4 separate regions of the Homo sapiens genome follow, and all the other regions are linked to region 4. The links are contacts of gene promoters, found by promoter capture Hi-C in blood cells and fetal thymus (Javierre and others, 2016). All regions are on one chromosome and are shown on one strand. The core of a region is centred on a gene start or on the middle of the fragment in contact, and the rest is flanking DNA. Distances in the headings are between cores, read along the strand shown. Region 1 has its middle 75 kb from the start of SEC22A. Region 2 overlaps SLC49A4 (solute carrier family 49 member 4). Region 3 has its middle 3.8 kb from the start of LINC02035. Region 4 holds the start of SEMA5B (semaphorin 5B).

Evidence for each region. The method cuts DNA at HindIII sites, captures the fragments that hold promoters and counts their contacts. A CHiCAGO score of 5 or more calls a contact.
Region 1: a contact is called between a fragment that was not itself captured here and the fragment with the promoter of SEMA5B in region 4, in 1 of 17 cell types (megakaryocytes). The highest score is 5.1, in megakaryocytes.
Region 2: a fragment that was not itself captured here is called in contact with the fragment with the promoter of SEMA5B in region 4 in 1 of 17 cell types (M2 macrophages); the score reaches 6.1 in M2 macrophages.
Region 3: a contact is called between a fragment that was not itself captured here and the fragment with the promoter of SEMA5B in region 4, in 2 of 17 cell types (M2 macrophages and M0 macrophages). The highest score is 8.0, in M2 macrophages.

What each region holds. Positions count from the first base shown.
Region 1 is chr3:123,275,236-123,277,935 of GRCh38, reverse strand. No RefSeq gene overlaps it. Among named protein-coding and RNA genes, the nearest start is that of SEC22A, 75 kb to the right of the region's middle. The HindIII fragment of the contact is 2,255 bases long and covers 140-2,394 here.
Region 2 is chr3:122,807,606-122,810,305 of GRCh38, reverse strand. The region is part of intron 2 of SLC49A4 (solute carrier family 49 member 4); the gene reads right to left. Among named protein-coding and RNA genes, the nearest start is that of SLC49A4, 14 kb to the right of the region's middle. The HindIII fragment of the contact is 690 bases long and covers 908-1,597 here.
Region 3 is chr3:122,881,355-122,884,054 of GRCh38, reverse strand. No RefSeq gene overlaps it. Among named protein-coding and RNA genes, the nearest start is that of LINC02035, 3.8 kb to the left of the region's middle. The HindIII fragment of the contact is 637 bases long and covers 1,003-1,639 here.
Region 4 is chr3:123,026,403-123,029,102 of GRCh38, reverse strand. It overlaps SEMA5B (semaphorin 5B), which reads left to right and starts at 1,340. Exons shown (of 23, transcript NM_001031702.4): 1 at 1,340-1,639. RefSeq lists an enhancer at 229-736. The HindIII fragment of the contact is 2,453 bases long and covers 432-2,700 here.

The DNA of each region.
Region 1 (2,700 bases), core at 18-2,517, 250 kb before region 4:
TAGGAAAAGCAAATGTTTGTAACACCCAAATCACCAATAATGCTTTTATTTTCCACATCAAGATTAATTTATATGTTAGTTTTAGTACAAGTACTAAAATGTATACTTCTTGCCCTAATAGCTAAGGTATACATAAGCTTCACCATACATCTTGCAGCCACCTGTCTGTCCTATGTCATTGTTATAAATGTAGAGATTTTAGGAAACTATTTTATTCAACCTGGGACATCTATACTGTAGGAGTTAGCACTGACCTGATGTCTTATTTAAAAGTAATGTATATTACCTTTACATATATTCCTTATATATTTAAACGTATTTCCATGTTATCCAGCTTAAAATCACATGGTGGTTAAGAGCATGAGTTCTGAGTCAGATCTGGACTGAAATCCTGATGCTACCACATGGGTTAGGTTGTGACTGTGGTCAAGTCACTTAACTTCTTCATGGCCCAGGTGGCTCATTTTTAAAAGAGAAAACCTTCATAAATGCTTTCGGTAAAGATGAGATGCTTAGCATAGTGCCTGTCACACAGTATACATTGCCATTTCCCCCTTCCTGTCTGCTTCATCTGTTCACACTGCTGCTAAAACAGTAAGAACCCAGCTGTCGTCAGTCACACACACATTCCCTAAGAAGTGTCTTTCTGAGATGCACTGTGGCACAGAAAAATGAGCACCAACTTTCAAGCGACTTAAACCCAACTCCAAATTTGAACTTCACATCCACCACCAAGTGTCATACCATACGAAGACAAGTTCCTGGCCTGAGTCTTGGTTTCCTCAAATGCAAATGAGATCGTGCCCGCTCCACCTCATGCTGCCATAAGGATGAACTAAGGAGAACCCAGCACTGGCCCACAAAATGAGCTAACAAGCATTCTCCTCATTAGTCCTAGGCACTGGAGAGATTCAAAGTGCAAGAATGAAATACTTTGTTCATCTTTAGGCAAGGTCCTTTGCAACCCAACCTCAAAGAAAAGTGCTGGCACAAAGAAGGTAAGCAAGCAAGGCAGAGCTGGGGAGGGGACACCAGGAACAAATGGGGAGTGGAATGCCTGAGTCCTGCTTCCCGTTGTCAGATGGTGCCTGAATGTGCTTTCTGTTGGGTGATGCTTGTATGGCTGTGCTGTGAGATGCAGGAGAAAGGGGTGAATGTAAACCGTGGGTGGGTTTGGGCTGAAAATACTGTTTGTTGCCAAGGAAACACAAGGAACAATTCATAAGGCTAGGATATTGATTTCAAAAACTCTGAGAACTAAGGCTGATCTCTGAGTTTCCTAAAACCCCCAATTGTGCTGAGACGACTGATTACACATCAGCATTGCCAACGCAGAAGAAACCTGAATGCCCACGCATCAACACCACTCACTGTTAACAAGCAGGAGCATATGCGCCACGTGGCTTCCAACCACACAGTGTTTCCACGTTTCTTTTGATTTCATCTACTAAATAACCTAGAAAACTCAGCCACTCAAGAAAGAGACAAGAGTGGCAGCCAGTTTTTCTCTTTGAAAAACTCGATGCTTAAACAGGAGGCCGCAATCTGCCAGCATTCAACAGCAGCCCCAGAACATTAATGATCACACACCTCCAACCTTACCGGTAATGCTCAGAGTGACATTCTCGGCTCACTCAGCCCTTTTACACAAACTCAGTCACAACCCTTGGAGCTGGGTTTCTTTTGTTAACTTTTAGCGAGGTTATTACTAAAGCCAATTTAACCCTAAAATCAGACCTTACTTTACCACAGCATTTTTAGGGAGAAAGACTTTGGTTCCTTAGAGATAAGGCAGAAAAATACTATAAAGCATTGAACACAGACAAAGAATGTGGCCCTAAAGAGTGACCTATAACTTGTGGTTAAGGCTAAGTGTTCAATGAGGTTTTGAGTGGTGGCTGCTCTTGAACGTATGTGTTCTTTTACCACACACTCCACAGAAGTTCTAACTCTTACAGTGAGCCAAAAGTCTGTTAAAATAGTAACAAGGAAGGTGTACACACACACACAACCTTTGTTGAGTTCCTTGGAAACCCAACAGCTCAGAGTATGACCTTAGGTCACTTAGTAAACCTTTTGAAATGAAGGCCAAGCAATTGCCTTTTAGGGGAGCAGCTGACCTCAGAAGCCACGGAGGTTAGGTCCTTTATGACAAACTTCTGGTCTCTGTGGAGCCCTGATGAAGTAGGAGTCTAATGGGGTTCCACACGTGGCCTAACAGAAATGGAGCTGTCCATCTCTCCACACTAGATTCCACTGTGGAGACATTTACTGCAATATAAATGTGCCAATCCAAGGATAGCACACTCACTTTCAATCTTATAATTCTGTAATACAGAATTGGGTAAAGGTTCTCCATGTCTTAAGGCATTTGTCTCAAATGATTTTCAAGCTTAATACTTGTTTTCAGCTTAGGATTCTTACCTATGAAAACAAAATCCTTTATTAACCACACCTACACAAATCCCCCCAAATCCTGAAATGGAAGCCTTTGAAAGCTGGTACAAGGTAAGGATCCAAGGCACAATCATAACATGTAAATGTGTGAAAATCGAGAATTCTGTTCATTTTAGCACTTCACAGGACCCCCAGTGAGAACACCTTTACTAGAAGGCATCAGGAAAGGCTCTCCCCTAAGGAACTGGTATGCTTTTCACCTACTGATAGGGCAGTGCATAACTTCTTTCCCTACCCTTAGCC
Region 2 (2,700 bases), core at 3-2,502, 220 kb after region 4:
GTGGCAAAATAATTTTTTCCTGAGTTTTCATCAGTACTATGCAAATAAAATAAATACTGATACTATATATAAGTAGAACACCATTAGGAAGAGCTTGTCAGAATGCTGCTATTCTCATGTCTTGATACTTAAGGGAGCTAAGATACAGGAAGTCAAGGGTGCAGGGGAGCCATTCCAAAAGGCTGGGTCAAAAGCTCAAAAAGCTCCGAGTGAAACAAGGCCACAAAAACACAGACTTGTAAATGCTTGTTTCAACACTGGCCTTCCCTGGAACATCGGATGGAGACTGAAGCTTAAAAGTGATGGCTATACACCTGATTTGTTGAAAATACATGTTCCAATTGTAGCATTTTCATTTTAACAGCTTCATCATGCATTGTTAACAACACTGCTTAAAAGATATGCTTAAAGACTACGAAATGAAGTCTTATTTCAAGGGGTTAATACTCCTGTATTCTTTATAGATGAATGTATAAGATTGAAAATTCAATTTATACACTCTTTTTATGAAAGATTCAATCTCTGAACTTTTTATTTCTACTTCTTACCTGTTCTACATTTGTTTACATTTATTTATGAATTGTTTCTTTTTCATACCACCTTCTCCAACAAGATGGAGGGTCAACTCTATTATTCCCAGAATTTTGTATATGGAAAGGATATAAAGGGATATGAGACTGGAGGCAAGTAATAGTATGGATGGCCCAAAACAGAAGAAAAACTAGCAAAAATATTAATAGGTATTTTTTTTGAGATGGGGTCTCGCTGTGTTGCCCAGGCTGGTCTCAAACTTCAGGCACAAGAGATCCACCTGTCTCAGCCTCCCAAAGTGCTGGGATTACAGGTGTGGGCCACTGCACCTGGCCTTAATAGGCATTTTAAAAGAAAGCAGTGTTGAATTTAAGCTTACATGAAAATCTGTACTTAAAATCTGTGGATGCTTGAAAAAACACACCTCTGGGTGTTTGAAAAATTAAGAGCATCTCAAATACAATAATGAGACTTGTGTTAAAATCTAACTGAGAAGGATGGAAAATTATGACTAGCTTTCCATAGGAACCTAGATGATTGTCTTATCTCCCTTTTCAAACATGAACCCTTGTACCCTAAATTTTCTAGAAAGAAAACACATTTTGAAATTCAAAACTGAACATTTATTTTGAAACTGAAAAATTCTGTTCCAAAAGAAAGTCAACATCTTGTCCCTGAAATCCACTCTCCCCCACTTCTGTGTTCCCCATCTGTTAATGGAATCAACAATTTCAGAGTCCCTCGAGTGAAACTTCCAGCATATCACCTCCCATCTCTTTTTCTCACACTTCCCCTCATGTCTGTGCCATCCTTTCCATTCCCCCAACTTCCCACAGCATGGAATCATTCTGGACTCCTTTCTCTTACTTCCCACATCTGGTCCATCAGCAAATGGACCAGAATATAATCAGAATATAATTACATTTTGAATATTCAAGATGATCAGAATTTGACCACTTCTCACCACTCCCACTGCCACCACTATGGTCCAAGCCACCATCATCTCTCACCTGGTTTATTGCACTTGTTTCCCAACTTTCCTTACTTATGCCCATGACCTCAAGCTTCAGTCCATTCTCAAAGGAGCAGCCGAGCACCATGGCACTCTCAGCTCAAAACCTCCAGTGGTTTCCTAGCTCAGAAAAAGCTGAGGAGCTGACGTGGTCTTAAAGAATCTGGTCCCACCCTCCCACTACCACTCTGTAACCGCTCTGACCTCATTTGCTACCTGCTTTTCTCATGCCACACCAGCCTCCCTGCCAGGCATCCCTGTCCCTCTTCCACCCTGAACTCTTGCGGTTCTCTCTGCATATAATGCTTGATTCCTAGATACTGCATCATCCATTACTTCTGTCAGGTTTTTATCCCAAAAGGTTATCTTCCCAGTTAGGTTTTTCTTTCTGAAATCTCACCATCCTTTCCTCGCCTTTTCATATCCTTCTTTCCTATTTTGTTTTACTCTCCATAGCACATACTATGTATTTTACTTATTTATCTAGTTTATTGCTGGTTTCCCTGAGTGGAATGAAACTACATCACAAACATAGTATGTCATGTAATGTACATTATATAGTAAATTACTATGTACTATGTAATATACTATGTAATTTACTACATTACATAGTAATTTTTATCTGCTTTGTCTTCTGTCATATTCCCAATGCCCACAAAGAGGTTGGCACATAGTAGAAGCTCAGTGAATTCTGTTGAATGAATGAATGACCTAATAAATGAACCAACAAAAGAATGACTTCAGCTTGGGGTCCCACTGTATCTTTCCAGGTCTTCTGCCAGCAATCTCTACCCCTTATAATCAAGCCTACATATCTCAATCCATAGTGAATATAACATAGGTCTGATACTAGCACTCCTCTGATTAAGAGCCTAAGGGGTTTTCCACTATCCAGTGAGTAAAGTACACTGTTAATAATACAGGATGGCATCAAGACCCTTCAGAATCAAAATATAACCTTCTAACCTCATCTTTTTATATCCCATTCTTACACCTTAATCTGTAGACCAGTATCTCTCGAACTTGAGTAATTTATGGGTCCTTCTGAAAGGGAAAAAATTTCTCAACGACTCTCAAGGTCACATTCAAGGACCCCAGTCTCGGAAACACTAATTTAAGAAATTAACATCCTGGTCAACAAAAATACCTTTTTATTG
Region 3 (2,700 bases), core at 72-2,571, 150 kb after region 4:
TTTGAAATTCCCATATCAAGGAAATACTCGAACTTCTAAAGCTTAGCTGTGAGAAGACCTGTTAAATCTTTCTGGAGCACCTGGGCTTACTCATGTTCTGAGCTTGCTAGCGTCTCGTTCAGGAGAGGAAACTCTGAGCGTATGGCCTTATTTCCTATTCGGGAATGAGAATGGATTTCTGCTGGGGATCCTGGAGAGGGGTTGAGGGTGAAGAAGCCTGTGTCAGAAAGTCAGTTCAAGAAAGTGGAAGGTCTCAGGGACAGAGCTGAGGTCAGATTCATCCAAGGGTTGAGAAAGGTATCTGACGAGTCAGAGCCTCAGAAAATCATAAAGTGATCTAAATCCTGACCACAAACAAATGTAAATCAGAGAGACTGAGGGCCATGTAACTGCCTGTATCACTCCCATCCCCCTGGCCAGAGATGACACCCTCCAAGGGACCCCTACGGGCCTCTGTATTAGTTCCTGGAATCCTCTCCTAAGTTTGAGGTTCCATCTGAACCAGAAGGACACGTGAGGAAATGAGCTCGAGAGCCAAGATGTCTGCTGAGTGAGCAGGCCACCCCGCCTCTACTGAGCACAAAGTACCCCACAGCCCACTGTAAAGTCCTGTTCCACTTTCTTGAACTGACTTTCTGACACCCAGAAACATTCCCTCTGAGTATTGCTCACATTTCCTAACAGACCAGCACACTGTCTGATAGTAAAGAAATAAACTATCTTGTCCCTTCTGCATGAATATAATTCCAAATCAAAGTGGAATTGCATTTTTCTCCGATATTCATAAAATAGGCTTGATAAAATGTTCTCATAGTTTCCTGCATTTCTTTTTTAATATGACATTTTCTTCATATCACAGCTTTAGTACTTGCCTTAATATGGCAAAATGATAGTAATTTCTGTACTTATTTCAGGGACAAATGTGCAATGTGATTTTTTAAACATTAATTTAAAGCAAATTTGCTATGCATTTTTATTCAATCTTGAGCCTAAAGTGAAGCTTGTACTTATGCAAACAGTAAGATGAATGCCTGGATTTTAGTAAAATAGTAAAAAACAAACAAACAAACAAACAAACAAAAAACTAATTAAAAGTTAAGTAGATGGGGATTTAACCTCTTCAATTTAAAATCCCTTAGCTTAGATCTCTCATTAGAAGGGCTTCATAAAAACAAGCTGTAAACATTCTCCATAATTAAACATGAGTACATGATCTACGAAAAAACTTGGCCCTCAGGCCATATATATTTAAATATACAAAATTACATTTGTATTTGATTCTCTCGTAATTAGCTCCATCCTCCAGTGAAATGCATTTGTGTATACAACTGTCTTGTTCCTATACCTCCACCAGGGATCATATTAAAAAATGCTTCTTCCCATAAACTGTGAAGTATTAATTGATAAGCCACAGGGAACCTGCACTACAGCATGTCCTTACCAATTAATATTGGTGTTGACTTGGTTTATGGGATTGAATTATTCATCAGAATCTTTTTACATGATGTCATTACAACCCAAGGGCTAAGAGCTGACAGAGCATCTTCAGGATAGTGATGGAGAAAAAAGAATTTTACTTATAAACCAAATAATCACCTTAACTTAATCCTTGTACTTCCCATACTCAATAATGGAAGCTTACTGTTAAAGCCCTATCATTTTTTAACATGAAGGTATTCATGCACACCCAAAATGGTCTAAATTAAGCTTCTGTGAGGTAGGAAAAAAACACCTGGTTTAGGAGTCAGAAACTGTGAGCCTCAGTTGTACTTTACCTCTCTAGAATCATTTCTATAAATTCTAAAATGAGGGTTTGGATTAGTGAAGGGTTAAGATTTCTTTCAGCTGTAACATTTCATTAGGATTCTATAATGGTTAGAAAGTGCAAAGAAAGCAGCTGGTCTATTTTGATGCATGATAGAAATAAAAACAAAAAGAAAATATGATTTGCAATATTCAAGTAAATGATGTGTAATCTTCTCCCCACCCCCAAGCCTTTTGGTTCCCTTCCTGTCAGGTTTGGTATATGAAATTTTTGATCACTTAAAACAGTTGCAGTTTATAATTAGAACAATTACCTGCTGGAGGGGTAAGCACATACAAACAAAGTACAGGGACTCGTCTCACCTCATGTATTCTAAAAACAAGAATTCTGAACAATGCAAGAATTTTTAATCACTACCACTTGGGATGTTTTGAACTAATTAGTCATTTAGGTAATACTTTTAGAGTGTTATTCTACTTTGTGTTAAAAGAAGAATTAAGCCTGGTGTGGTGGTGCATGCCTGTAGTCCCAGCTACTCGGAAGGCTGAGGTAGGAGGATCACTTGAGCCCAGGAGTTTGAGTCCAGCCTGGGCAACATACTGAGATCCTGTCCCTTAAAAAAAAAAAGTGCAATTAACCATAATTAAAATGTTCTACACAAGAAATCTTACTATTGCAGAATGTTATACCACAACATCCTCAAACATAATAGTTCGGACTAAAACCAAATACCTTATAATTCTTCCCTCTCCTTTCTCTCTTCCCTCTGAACAGGAAGGGGTGGTGCTTATTTAGCATCCGGGTCATGGTCTACGGATATCCTTAATGGCTGGCTTTGAATCATCTTCAAGGAATCCGCCTTCTTGGCCTGGTGTGGTGGCTCACGCCTATAATCCCAGCACTTTGGGAGGCTGAGGCGGGTGGATCACTTAGGA
Region 4 (2,700 bases), core at 91-2,590:
GAACCACCCTTTCTTTCCCATTATCCTGTCAAACTGCTTCTTGCCATGGTCCAGGGGTAGGAGGATGGCAGGCAGGAGGTGCTTCTCTGGGGCTCTTAGTGTCTCAATTCTTCTGCTTTATCTGGGTTTTCCTTTACCCAGAATTTTATTATGTAAAATGCTTCACTCAGACTTTGTTCTAATTATCCAATTTTTGGCATACTCTAGAAAGTCTTTTGATATTTTCCTTCCTCCAACTTATCTATTTTTATTTCATAGTTCTCTTTGGTTATCTCTTAGAATCACACTTTCCTGGTTTTAATTTTTCAAATCCTTTGTCTTTCTCACTCGTTCTTAGGTCACCTTTTTTTACATTTTCAAATATATTTTTTGTTCAGCAGAGGGCTCCCTTCCCATCCCTCTTGCAGCCCGGGCAGCTAGGATTTGAAGCTTGCCCCTTGAATCTTTCTCTCCCGCCTTCTAGCCATCAGAAACACTAGATCACTTAAACTTGTAAACAATTCGGCCTCGCTCCTTGTGATTGCGCTAAACCTTCCGTCCTCAGCTGAGAACGCTCCACCACCTCCCCGGATCGCTCATCTCTTGGCTGCCCTCCCACTGTTCCTGATGTTATTTTACTCCCCGTATCCCCTACTCGTTCTTCACAATTCTGTAGGGTGCGTATTACTAACCCCAGTTTACAGCTGAGGAAACTGAGGCTTGGAGAGGTTCGCTCGGTATCGTACAGTTTGCAAGGTTAACCCTAATCCGGCCAGTTCTGGCTTTCCAGCCCAGCCCAGCAGCCTAGCCTCCCTCTCTGCCGCTGCAGGTTATAACGGCTCTCCCCCGTTTTACACGAGGTCCCTTCCCCTTCAAATCCACAGGCAGGAAGATCGTTCCGAACTGACGGGGCTGGGGAATGTGGGAGTCCGGAGTGGGGTTTGGGGGAGCTTCCTCAGGCCCTGAGTGTTGGGGTGGGCAGGCCGCGCCGATGGCCCTCGGGGATGTCACATTCGAGATGGGGTGACCGAGAACGGCAAGGCGGGATGTGGCAAACGGCGGCAAGTGCTCGGAGTCCTAGGTCTTGCCGCCGGAATGCCGGCCGGGGAAGGGGCTTCGGCCCACCGGGCTGGTCACCACACTCGGCAGGCCCGGGGCGGGAGTCGGCCGAGCAGCCGCGGGATGCAGGGCGCCCCCTCGCGCTCCTCCGCGCGCCTCGAGGCTGGCGGGTGCAGCGCCCGCCGCGGCAGGTCTGCTCCAGCCCCCTCCTCTTTTTCGCTCCCGCTCCCCTCCTTCTCTCCCTTTGCTTGCAACTCCTCCCCCACCGCCCCCTCCCTCCTTCTGCTCCCGCGGTCTCCTCCTCCCTGCTCTCTCCGAGCGCCGGGTCGGGAGCTAGTTGGAGCGCGGGGGTTGGTGCCAGAGCCCAGCTCCGCCGAGCCGGGCGGGTCGGCAGCGCATCCAGCGGCTGCTGGGAGCCCGAGCGCAGCGGGCGCGGGCCCGGGTGGGGACTGCACCGGAGCGCTGAGAGCTGGAGGCCGTTCCTGCGCGGCCGCCCCATTCCCAGACCGGCCGCCAGCCCATCTGGTTAGCTCCCGCCGCTCCGCGCCGCCCGGGAGTCGGGAGCCGCGGGGAACCGGGCACCTGCACCCGCCTCTGGGAGGTGAGTCCCGGGAGCCCCGGGCGCTTCCCCTGCGCGGGTTGGGGCTGCAACTTGCAAACTTCAGCAACTCGGGTGGGTATCGGGGTAGAGAGGTAGGGGTCCGGGCTCTGGCAAGTTGAAGCCAGGTAGGTGAGGCTGCGGGCGGGAGGACAGGGGGTCCCCTGGCTTCCGCGCCTCCCGCTGCCACCTCGGCTTGAGAGCCCTCATCGCTGCTGCGTTCCCGCCGCCAGCCAGCTTGGGTCCGGGTTGCACTGGGCCCTGCCAGGGCTGTGGTCGGCGCATCTGGGCTGCAGCGGCGATGGGGACCCGGGACCCAGGCCTGGAGAAGGAGACGGACGAGTGAGGCTGAGGGACGGAGGGACAGAGGTGCGGAGATGGAGGCTCAGAGAGGGCCGGCTAGTAAACAGCACTGAGGGAGAGTGCGGGCGGCGAGGCGCGTGGGAACGCGTGGCCCGCCCAGAGTGTGAAATCTCCCGCTCAGGGACGTCCCTGCTCCACCGCCGCCGCCTGCGGAGCCGCCGCCCGGATTCTTCCCAGACCCGCCTCCAGGACACTCTTGCCCTGACCAGGCCTGCGGAGCGTGAACTCTGCCCACCAGGCTCCAGGGGCAGTGGCTCAGGGCCCCGCACTCCCGGCTGGGAGGGTGGAGAGGGGTGCGGCAGCTGGAAGCAGGGACGCGAGCGGCGATTTCCCGATTTATGTTTCTCATGGTAATTTGTCTTTGTGGTTGGGGCTGCCCATTCACTTTCCGCTCACGTCCTGCGGGAGATCCAGCGAGGAGGGAGGGAGCGGGGGGCGCTCGGGCACAGAGAGGGATGCAGACGGGAGAGGGGATCGGGGACCCGCGCGGGGCGGGAGCCAAGAGGGAAGTGGTCGCCGGACCGGCGGAGGAAGAAGGCGAGGCTCGAGAAAACCCGGCCCAACGGAGCCGACTCCTTTGCCCACCGCAAACTTTAAACAAGGAGGAGGATCACCTGCAGCGCCGTTCTGGCCCCCTCCTCCCCGCCCCCGCCCCCCACCTCGAGCCCAGTCTTTGGGTAGTTCCGACTGCCCGCCGCGCC